4 separate regions of the Homo sapiens genome follow, and regions 2, 3 and 4 are each linked to region 1. The links are contacts of gene promoters, found by promoter capture Hi-C in blood cells and fetal thymus (Javierre and others, 2016). All regions are on one chromosome and are shown on one strand. Each heading gives the region's core, a stretch centred on a gene start or on the middle of the fragment in contact. The rest is flanking DNA. Distances are from core to core; before and after follow the strand shown. Region 1 holds the start of CAAP1 (caspase activity and apoptosis inhibitor 1). Region 2 overlaps MOB3B (MOB kinase activator 3B). Region 3 overlaps MOB3B (MOB kinase activator 3B). Region 4 has its middle 22 kb from the start of EQTN.

Region 1 (2,824 bases), core at 158-2,657:
TATATATATACTGTTTGGACTATAAATCTGTAAAGTCTCATTTGGAAAGCATTTGGTGGCATTCATAAGTTTTTAATAGCATAAACTTTGACCCAGGAATTTCAGTTCTCACACTCTCTCCCAACATAACTCTTGTAGGAGATATATACATAAAGGTGTTTGTATTGTAGTCACAACAATACAAAAAAACCTGCACACCCAAATATCAGAAAAATATAATACAATACCAGGCAGTCAGTAAAAATAACAAACCACGTATATAAAGAAGCCTATCACAACAATGCAGGTATTCAACAGCGGGAATAACACAATACAGCTTAAGTGTAGGAACTTAAAAACACGTATCTCACGAGGAGTGATTAAAAGAGGCCGCGTATCAAAATACTAATGGAGGGGCAAGAAAAGGGACTTGACGCTTTCCCTTTATTTCCTCATTGAATGAATTTAAAGTACCTATTCATTCATTTGTTTTCAAACAAATTATGAACTTTTTTAAAACGGCGTTCTCTTGGCAGACTGGTGGCGTATAAAGAACATGGCTTTTGTAGTCAGATATTTGGATTCAAACCTAGGAGCTATTAACAAACTCTGTGACCGTGGGTAAAGTTTAACTTCTTTGGGCCTCAATTTTCTTATCTCTAATGCGGAGTTAACCATATCTACGAAAAGGTGAAGACGAAGGGAGAAGTGTTTGGCTCGCAAGGGAAATGAAGGCTAGCTTCCAACTCGTATTCTTCCGGCAGAGTGAAACCATAGGAGTGGAAGGAGCCAAGAGTTTAAAAAATAAATTAAAAAAAAAGTGATCAGGAAATCCAGAAACTTGAAGTTCAAGATTCAAGACACGGATGGGAGTGTGGGGCTCACCAGGACTTAGGTAGGAACATGAACCTCAAGGACGGACGACCTTGAGATTGCCGCGCTAGCAGTGAGCTCCAGCCTGCGCCCCATCCCTCTGGAAGCCCGACTTCTTCCGAAAAAGCAGCAGCTCCAGGAAGCGGCCAGAGGGGCGCGCACGCACCTGCTGCAAGGAGCCCGAGACGCTGGAAGAGTCGGTACTCCTCCGCTTCCGGCGCTCGCTGCGCTCCACGCTGCTCCCGCCCCAACAGCTGCCGCCGCTCCCACCGCCGGTGACACTTCCACTAAAATTGGCGTTCCCACAGCAGCTGACGCTCCCGCAGCCCCCGGCGCTCCCGCAGCCGCTAGTGCTTCCACTGCTGCCGCTGGCCAACGCGGGTACGATGTCCGGGGCCGCGAGCGCTGCGGCCGCCTCCTGACTGCTACGTTTGCGCCGTTTCTCCCGGGAGGACTTTTTCCCCGTCATGATCCCTCTGCTGCAACCATCGGAGGAAAGTCCGCTGTCTCTGGTGCGACCGAAGCCCGACTCCTGCGGCCGTGGGCGGCAGGCACTGGCGTCGCAGGTTATGCGTCACTTCCGGCCGTGGCACAGAACGTGGTGAAGCGTTATGGGCCGGGGTGGCAGGGGGGTTGCCATAACCAGTTGCGCTTCCCCCTCCGGTCGCGGAGGTCGATTTGAGTGTGTAGCGGGTAGCCTGTCTAGTCAGAGTTTGTTTTGTTTTGTTTTTATATCTCTACAAAGGATAGAAGGTGGAACTTACGTCCTTTTAACTTCAAAACTTTTTATTGTTAGTGTTTTGTCTGTTTACAATAAGGTTGAAGTATAGTTGCTGATTCTCCATTTCCGTTTACCTCCAAATCTTAAGATATTAACAACGCTATGACAATAAAGAGAATAGGGAAAAGTTGTTCCATCTCATTTTCCTCATCACCTGGGCAAATTAGGTATTTCTTGCGTAGAGTCTGACATGGACAAGTAGAGCTTGAGTTCGTTTTTGAAAATTGAGAATGGGTCAAAGCTTTATGAGATTTTATGGGTGGATGTAATCTAAATAGAAGGCAGATTTTAAGACAAGGGAGCTAGAACACTTAAAACGTGAACCAAGGTCTTTGTCGTTTCAGCAGGGGCCTTTAGCCACTGAGGGAAAAAGGTAGAGCCTGGGGCAAAGCTAGCTGGGTGGTAGTAATTCTGTGCCTTTCCCTGGGGTAAGAAGCAATTAAAGAAGCTTCCCTTCTCTTTGTCTCCTATTTGTCTCAGTCATTCAACAACTACTTAAATGCCTAAAACCAGCCTAGGGTTAATAAATAGGGACACTTCCAGCCCTAGGAAAACTGTCTTCCCCCAGGCCCCACTCTTAAATTGGCCTTGTAAGGTAAATCCTGGGGCTGAGCCCACTGTGTTCCCAGGAGTTCCGTTAAGTATCACACTCATTGGAGTCATACCTGAAAGGATTGAGAGTGTTGTGTTCACAGATAGGAAAAACACATAAAATTAATAACATGTTACATTTATAAACCTGTTATGAATTGTGTCCCTGAAACCATCATAATTTTAATAAAACTAAATTGCTAGATTTTTTCTTTTTTCTTTTTTTTTTTTTTGAGACGGAGTTTCACTCTCGTTGCCCAGGCTGGAGTGCAATGGCACAATCTCGGCTCACTGCAACCTCCGCCTCCCGGGTTCAAGCATTTCTCCTGCCTCAGCCTCCTGAGTAGCTGGGACTACAGGCATGCGCCACCATGCAGGGCTAATTTTGTATTTTTAGTAGACAAGGGGTTTCTCCATGTTGGTCAGGCTGGTCTCGAACTCCCGACCTCAGGTGATCCACCCGCCTCAGCCTCCCAAAGTGCTGGGATTACAGGCGTGAGCCATCGTGCCCTGCCAAATTGCTGGATTTGTGACAAAAGATAAGCTTTTAGTAGAAGCATAGCTAAACGTTAACCAACTTTTCCTATAGCCCACTTCCTT
Region 2 (2,824 bases), core at 170-2,669, 480 kb after region 1:
TGTGCTGCTTGCCCTTAAGCAACTTTGCTAACTGCCAAAAGCCTCTGTTTTCTTGTCTGAGGAATGGTGATAATAATACCTAGCTCTTCATGAGACCACAAGGACTAAATGAGAAGCACAGCACCAGCAGGCACACAGAAGGCATCTGGCAAATGGCAGCCGATGTTACCAACGCTAGGAAGACGGCTCTTCTGAATCAATGCCAAGACAGGGGTGGCAGGAGGGCAAATGAAACAGGACAGGTGAAGCTGCCTCTTCTCCAAAGGATAAACTCTTCTTGGAAAGTATACTTGGAAGACATGTCATATATTGGAAGAGCATGTGAACTGTCCAAGGAGCTTCCAAAGGACATATGATGAAACCTGATTTCCTGGCCAATCCTTTGGGACCCCTGATGGCATGTCAACAACAACCAGAAGTGCCCATGTTTCTCCTTGAAACTGTTATTCATGTCTGAGGGCATTTGTGCTGTCCCTTCTGTCTTCAGAGTCCAGTAATAAGAGGGATGTGAAAATCCCTCTACAAGTCATAAAAACCACTCATTCTCAATAGTTCATGAATAAAAACAACATCCCACACACGTGGAAAAAGAAAACATACCTCCTCTGGCAGCGTGGCTGAGAACACACCATTTCCAAAATACTTGCAAAACAAGATGCAATCGGATCACAAGGCAAAAACAAAACAAAACAAAACAAAACACATGAACAACACAGATGTTTCTTAATAATATATATCCTCCTCCTCTTAGCTTATTCTCTTGCCCCTTCATCCATCCATTCTCCTGCCTCCTGCTCTCTGTCTATATATATACATACATATACATATATATACACACACATACATACACACACACACACACACACACACACACACACATACAGAGAGGGAGAGAGAGAGAAGCTTCGTGTTCTTGCTGATGCTGATGAAAATTCAGCTGCGAGGATTGATTCCTCTTAGCAGATGTTTTGTGTTATCTCAGTACGTTCCTCAAGAAAGTGTCTGTTCGTCATGCCAAGGAAAACAATCCTGTGTAGCAGGACTTTGTTCCTCTGCCTAAAAAAAGAGAAAACAAAGTCCCCAAACAAGCTGACAGCTGCAAATGCTTAGAAATAAACTGGCTACTACTCTGTTTTCCAACTCCCTCCCTCTGCCCCTCCCCAGCCCCTTTGTGCTGTCCTCCAGTCTGTTATCATGGTGGTTGGGCCAAAAGAAAGACAAACAGTGGTATGTGATTATATGTTCTCAAGAGAGTCTTAATTCTTTCAGACATGCCATGTGCTGGGCATAGGAAGTGCTGTTTCAGCCACCCCAAGGAGCAACCATGAGTCCAGCGTGCCTGCTCGTCACACCTCCTCCTACCCCTGAGCGCCACTTCTGAGTTGCTCATCAGCATCCCCAGCTCCCAGATGGCTGCCTTTGTCCCCTGCTTTCACAGCATGGATGTGAAAGGAGCAGTAGATTAAGAAAGACCCAAGATAACCCGTGAAAGATATTCACTGTGGATTGACAATAAAAGCCATTAGAAACAAACCCTAGACCGTGTAAACCTGACCAGTTTGCTGAAAATCAAATGGGACAAATGAGCCAGAGCTGAGAACAGGATGTTAATGAACTTCATTGGTTCTGGAAAGTCAGGCTGAGGTACCAGGAGTTTGATCAGGAATATAGGTCTAGGACTACCACACCTTCTGGTTTTTTTCATGAGCCCCAACCAGAATTTGAAAGCCAGGTTCTTTGTCATGGATGTAATATTGTGAGTATCCTCACAAATAAAACTATTCTTTATTCCCCAGTAGAATCTTTCTTCCATTATGTGGGGACAATTAACACCAAGTCTTGTCTTGAACAGTTGCTGATCTCTAAATTTCTCTTCAGCCCCACTGCCTCCTTCCTAGCTCACCTCCTGCCTAGTTTATGCAGGTCCCTTGTAACTAAGCTTCCTTTCTTTACTCCTGCATTTCTTCAATCTCCACTTGGCAGGTGAAGGACCTTCCCAATACGCAAATCTAACCAGGAAGCCTGTTTTTCTGCATAAAACTCTAAAGCAGCCTCCTACTGCTTCCAAGGTGAAATCAAAGCTATTTAACATGCAGGCAAGACCCTTTATGATTTCACACATGCAGTGGTCCACCATCATTTCTGGATTCTCCCAACTTGCATGTAATACTCCAGCCATCTGAAGCTACGATCCTCTTTCTCACTTGCTTCTGGGCGTTGCTACATACTGGAGGGTTGGTAGCTGGAAACCTCTTCCTCAGCTTCTCCATTTCGCCTGACTAACTCCCATTTGTTATTCAAACCTTAACTAATTTGTCACTTCCTCTAGAACGTCCTCCCTGGCCACCTCACCCTCAGTCTAGGTAGGCATATCATAACACCCGCTGCTTCTTCCATGACAATACTACCACATCAACTTTTAATTGTCCTTTTTTTTTTTTTTTTTTTGTCTCCCAGGAGACTGAAAATTGTGTAATGTCAGGGATCTTTCTTGTTCATAGTCATAGCCCTGGCATCGAATGCATAGCAGAACACGGTGGTTCTCCATATGTAATTATTGAATGCAACGGATTGAATGCTTATGCCCCCCTCAAATGCACGTGTTGAAATCCTAATTCCCAGGCTGATGGTACTAGGAGGTGGGGCCTTTGGGAGGTGATTAGGTCATGAAGGCAGACACCCCATGAATGGGATTAGTGCCTTTAAAAAGGAGGGTCCTGGCTGGGCGCGGTCGCTCAGGCCTGTAATCCCAGCACTTTGGGAGGCTAAGGTGGGCAGATCACCTGAGGTCGGGAATTCAAGACCGGCCTGACCAACATGGAGA
Region 3 (2,824 bases), core at 118-2,617, 430 kb after region 1:
AATTTCTTCAAGGTCCAAAATGATCAGAACAAGAATGACAACAGTGTCAACCAAATGATGCCTCCAACTCCTTTTAATGATTGTGCCTTGGTACACATTTCCTCAAAGATAATGGCTATACTTTTCCCACAATCTTTTTGCTTTTGTTTTCTCCCAGTGTGGTACTCATGGAGTATGGAAGGGACATAAGGTTTAGAGAACATAGGAAGCAATTTGCTTCCATCAATAACCAGAATGATGGATTGACATAAATCAGCACAAAAAGATAAGTGTAATTCTATTCAAGTCCCTTAATGTTTTGCCAATTAAGGTTTTTTTTTTTTTTTTTTTGAAACAACAACAGTGTAATCTTTAACAGGGATGTTAAAGGTAAGAAGTCAGGAAGATAAACCAAAATGATTGAGTATGATAAAGAATTTTGCATGGCGATTAAAATAGAAAACCTATAAATGTAGAAAAAGCAGGTCTGGACTTAGCAAAGAAACAATATAGTTTGGAGAAGGCATGAAATAAGTTCTTTTCATGTTCACTGCTGGTCACAGCCATAACAGAGAGTGATGTGGAGAGCTTTGGGAAGGTTTCACGTTGAGTTACATCAGTGGTCAACAATGGAGCAACAAGACTCCGTAGAGGATGCCACCCTGGGAGAATTGCAAGGGAAAGGAGGCTGAAGCACAACTGGTAATAGCCTTCAGATATTTAATGGATATGCAAATAAAGCTCTGATTAATTGTATTTTCACTTATTATATATCATCTTTGGACCTTTCTAAAAGTGGGACACTAGAAAAGATATACTGAAACTCAAAAAGAATACTTCAGCTCGAGTTGAATGGAATTCAAGATGTTGTGGAGGGTTCAGTGGGTTGGTTATACCAAAGAATGCTATAGAATTTCCATGCCCGAAGAACTGTGAGAGGAGTATAGATTTTTTCACCAAGGAAGTTACTGGCATGGTTTGAGAGATAGAAGGAATTGATTAAGAAACCTCTCAAAGTTTCTTCCACTTAACCTGGCTCTGAGACTCTGGGTCTTTGGAAATGAGAAAATACCCAGGGAAGAGAAAACGAACAATTTAAGAAGCAGGAAATGACTCTAGATCAGTATTTCTCAATTACAGCCGTGTAAGACATTTTCTTCCTAATCATCTCTCCCTTGCACCATCACCATGAAATTTTAATACCACATAAATACTTTGTATCTGTTTATGTACTTGTGATCCTTTGGAGGGTCACAACTCACTGTACTATCTAAGAGTTTTCCCAAAAAAACCATCTGACAATTAGGGAGTGTGTGCTCTCTATAAATAAACTATGGGTCCAAATGGGAGGTCATTGAAGACGGGAGAAAAAATAAAAGCGTTGAATATTTCACCTCTGGCTACAGGGAGCATACAAATCCTCACTTGCCCATGCTCTCACGTATTGCCTGCACATGGAAACTTCCTTCTTCCCCTCCCTCCTGTTATATGGAAAGGGATGAATGCTTTGCTAGTGCTATATCATCTGACTGCAATGCTTATAATATTTTGGGGATCCTGGGCCTCCTTGAGAACATTAAGGGATGAATGTACGTATGCACAGCCTCACACTCTATAAATGTATGTGTCCTGAATTTCAGAGCTTAATAATGAATTATGGAACTTGATAATGATTGGATCAGGCAGACAACACCTGATCAGTCCTAATATCAGAAAAGAGACAAGTAGACATTATGTGCTTCCTGAGGTGAGGCAGTAGTAAGGAAACAACATCACACATGTAGCAGTCTTGGGAAAAAAAATGTAACCTGTATCTCGTAATGAGGAAACAATCAGTAAAAAAGTCTAGATTGTGGGACATTCCACAAACTTGCCTGAACTCTTTAATAATGTCAGTGTCATGAAAGACACACCACACACACACACACTGCACATCATACACAAACACCACCCCACCACCCACCACTCAGACACACACAAAAGGGCAACTCTAATCAATTAAAGGAAACAAAAGAGAATGACAACTACATATAACGTATAATTCTTGATTGGATCCTGGATTTAAAAATAAACAGCTATAAAGGATATTTTGGGGACAACTGGAGAATTTTGAATATGGATCATATATTAGATTTATGCAGTATCAGTGTTCAGTTTCATGGGCGTGAAAATATTGCAGATTTATAGGACAATGCTCTTATTAAAAGAAAGAATATGATGAAGTATTTTACATTTTCATGATGTCTGCAACTTATTTTCAGAAGGTTCAAGAATAAGAATGTGTATTTACAGTGAGAAAGAAAATGTGAGGCAGGTGCGGTGGTACATGCCATAGTCCTGGCTACTCAGGAGGCTAAGGTTGAAGCTCACTTGAGGCAAGGGGTTCAAGGCCAGCTTGGGTAAAATAGGGAGAGACCCCTTCTCTTAAAAAAAAAAAAGGAAGAAAAGAAAACAAGGCAAAACATTAACAACTGATGCACTAAAGGACATAAGGGTACTCACTATAATCTTTCAACTTTGAAACTTTTACTTTAAAATTTCCCAAAATTAAAATGAAAGCAGAAAAAGAAGGAGAGTAGGACAGGTTAGGAAGAAGAAGGAGGGTTGTCAGTCTCTGACCCAGAGGGCTGAAGCTCCATTTATAACAGAGATGAACAGTTAGATGCAGTCAAGCAGAGGAGATAAAAATTGACTGCAGAGATTTTCTTCAGAATGTGCCAAAGTTCTGTGGGAACAGGAATATTCTGTGATTAAAAAAAAAAAAAGGGTAGTTTGCCAGAATTTACCCTAGAAGAGTTCATTAGTGCAATTAACAATATAAGCAGGAGGAAATTCTTCCAAGAAG
Region 4 (2,824 bases), core at 227-2,726, 380 kb after region 1:
AAAAAAAAAAGATGTAGACAAAATATTTAAATATCAATCATATTATTTCATGTAAAACTGTGCCATTGATTCAACTATACTTGGTAGCATGTGGATTTTTAAGAAATATTTTTTAAAATGAAGTAAAATTCCATTTCTTAAATAAGTGACTTTTTTTTAAAAAAAGCTTTTTTCCAAACCTTTCCTTTGGCTCTGAGAGGCTGGACATGTAGATGCATTTTTCTTCTGTTCTGAAGTGGCATCAATAAAAGCCTTCCCATTCTTTATGGCAGCCTTTATCTGTACTGCTTTGCTGGGCCCGAATGATTCCAGTGGGGCTTGTTAGCAGTGGGACTGGTACCCTGAATGGTCTAATGACCTCTTTATTGGTTGAGGCCTATAGGGCAGCAACATAAAACAAATGAAAATGATGAAAAATTGATAAAATTGATAATTTTGCCTTTCTTCTATCATAGAAGCTCGTTGGGGGCCTTACAGCCAGCCACACAGTAAATTGACCACATTTGTAACGCTGATTGTGATCCAATGCATGCATAGTTGGAGTATCCCCAGAAATAAGGAAATAATAAAACTGAACAACTACTGAAACATAATTTAAGAAAGTTTTAACTAAAAAATTAAATTTCATACAAAAGTGATACTTTGTATGTAGACAGAAAAAATAGAATAGCTAATAAGACATATCTACTAAAGTTATTGGACTTCAGAATTAAAGGAAGAATCCTTTGGATAGGCAGACAAAAGTATCACACGACTCAAAGGGTGAAATAGCAGGCAAGCAGACTTCTCCACAGCAACATTTGTTATAAGAGAATGGAACATGGGAAAGAATGTTTAGCTTCACTAATAATTAAAGAAATGTAATATAAGATAAGGCAATAAAATTTTAACCAGATTTGCAGGCTTTAAAAAATTATAATGTGCATCGTAGGTAAGGGTTTGTGGGAAGAGAACTCTGAAACATTGAGAAGGACTATAAATTGTGAAAACCCTTCTGGAAGGCAATACAGTGACAATAAGATTTTTAAAGAATGCTTTAAAAATCTTAAAATTCTTTATCTTTAGTCCAATTATTTCAACTTGTGAGAATTTTAAGGACAGTTATTTACAAAGCCAAAAACTATTTATATACAAGAATTGGGGAGGGGGTAACAGGGAGTAGGTGGGACTACAGGCACGCGCCATCACACCTGGCTTTTTTTTTTTTTTTTTTACATAGCACAATAAAATTAAAACTATAAACACCACAACATTTGCAGTTAAAGGGAAATAATGTTAGCCACCAAAAAAACTTTGTAAGAAATAAGAGGAAGGTAACTAGCATTTATTAAGTACTTATATATTTGACCCTGGGGTAGGCACTCAATTTTCCTTTCATAGATAAGGAAACTGAAGCTCAGAAAAATTAAATAACTTGCCCAAGGACACCCAACTATTCTATGAAGAACTGAAATTCAGGTTTTCATTTGTGATTTGGAAGTATAGACTCTGCCATGCAGAAAGTTTATTAAATATCTTTTTTTTTTTTTTTTTTTTTTTTTTTTGAGACGGAGTCTCACTCTGTTGCCAGGCTGGAGTACAGTGGTGCGATGTCGGCTCACTGCAACCTCCGACTCCCTGGTTCAAGCGATTCTCCTGCCTCAGCCTCCAGAGTAGCTGGGATTACAGGCATGCGCCACCACACCCAGCTAATTTTTGTATTTTTAGTAGAGACAGGGTTTCACCATGTTGGCCGGGAGGGTCTCCATCTCCTGACCTCGTGATCCACCTGCCTCGGCCTCCCAAAGTGCTGGGATTACAGGCATGATATATGACGCCTGGCCTAAATATCACTTTTTTAAACACAAAAATGTTAAAGGAATACTACTCACTGAACTGCTTCTTCAATTTCTTTTTTATGTCATAAAAGAACTTCAGCACTTATAAATTACAAAAGTTTATAATTATTTTGAAAACTAAAGTCGATTCTTGTTATTTCAGGTAGTTATACTCTGTAAGTCACCACAAACTCAGATTTAGTGAACACTGAATCCACTGCTCCTAAAACAAACAAACATGGGGTTAGGTTCAGGTAAGTCTCTGGTCACATTTTTTTTTTTGGTCAATCAAAGTATCACCTTGCTTTACATATGTGTCATGTTTACAGACATCTCATTTAATACCCTCGTGGCCAACAGCACTAAAACTCATGCCTGAACAAAGTTTATCTAGCACATATTTTCTCTGTAAGGCACATCACATTCTTTTTATGCTTAGGAGCACTAGACAGCACTACAATGAGCGGCAATTTTCAGCACAAAATCACCAACAAAAAGCACACAGATACAAAAAAACCTGGCACTAAACGGACTGCAAAAGGACATTTTACATTATGTGAGCTTAAACAAGAAGGCTATCACCTTCTTCAGCCTTAACTGGGAATGTGCATGTCAGGCAATTCAAATTTTTTGCCACTCTGCGTTGTCTGTGAATGATCTCATAAGCACAGCAAGTCTTGATTTTAAGGTTACACGTCAATTTTACTGAGTAGGTGAATTCGCAAATTTGGAATCTGTGAATAATGAGGATCGACTTTTAAAATTTATGGTTAAGAGGCTACCCAATGATAATATACCTGCTTTCAATGAAAATGTTAGATCTGTGGGTGGGGTGGGGAAACGGACAGGAAAATGCTAACAAGCAGGAATCAATGTACCGACTGCCAGTAAATTGTGCCCCCTAGTGGACAAAAGGATAAATAGTCCTAGAATAATAAAACTGGAAATAACAAGGTATGCACTTTATATAAAGCTTTGAGCAGCGGGGAGATGAGGAACTAAATAAT

The links. Contacts are between HindIII fragments. The CHiCAGO score rates a contact against its expected background, and 5 or more counts as called.
Region 2: a fragment that was not itself captured here is called in contact with the fragment with the promoter of CAAP1 in region 1 in 1 of 17 cell types (total B cells); the score reaches 5.9 in total B cells.
Region 3: a fragment that was not itself captured here is called in contact with the fragment with the promoter of CAAP1 in region 1 in 1 of 17 cell types (total B cells); the score reaches 5.1 in total B cells.
Region 4: a fragment that was not itself captured here is called in contact with the fragment with the promoter of CAAP1 in region 1 in 7 of 17 cell types (total CD4 T cells, megakaryocytes, naive CD8 T cells and 4 more); the score reaches 8.4 in total CD4 T cells.

Annotation. Positions count from the first base shown.
Region 1 is chr9:26,891,395-26,894,218 of GRCh38, forward strand. CAAP1 (caspase activity and apoptosis inhibitor 1) reads right to left here and starts at 1,408. Exons shown (of 6, transcript NM_024828.4): 1 at 1,019-1,408. The coding sequence starts at 1,321. RefSeq lists enhancers at 807-1,386, 958-1,137, 1,218-1,437, 1,387-1,966, 1,568-1,637. The HindIII fragment of the contact is 2,677 bases long and covers 1-1,872 here.
Region 2 is chr9:27,367,508-27,370,331 of GRCh38, forward strand. All of the region lies in intron 2 of MOB3B (MOB kinase activator 3B), which reads right to left. Among named protein-coding and RNA genes, the nearest start is that of EQTN, 72 kb to the left of the region's middle. RefSeq lists enhancers at 1-56, 1,574-2,327, 2,328-2,824. The HindIII fragment of the contact is 1,036 bases long and covers 902-1,937 here.
Region 3 is chr9:27,325,659-27,328,482 of GRCh38, forward strand. It overlaps MOB3B (MOB kinase activator 3B), which reads right to left. Exons shown (of 4, transcript NM_024761.5): 4 at 1-2,824. Among named protein-coding and RNA genes, the nearest start is that of EQTN, 30 kb to the left of the region's middle. The HindIII fragment of the contact is 2,910 bases long and covers 1-2,822 here.
Region 4 is chr9:27,273,911-27,276,734 of GRCh38, forward strand. It overlaps the pseudogene REXO6P. Among named protein-coding and RNA genes, the nearest start is that of EQTN, 22 kb to the right of the region's middle. The HindIII fragment of the contact is 2,624 bases long and covers 165-2,788 here.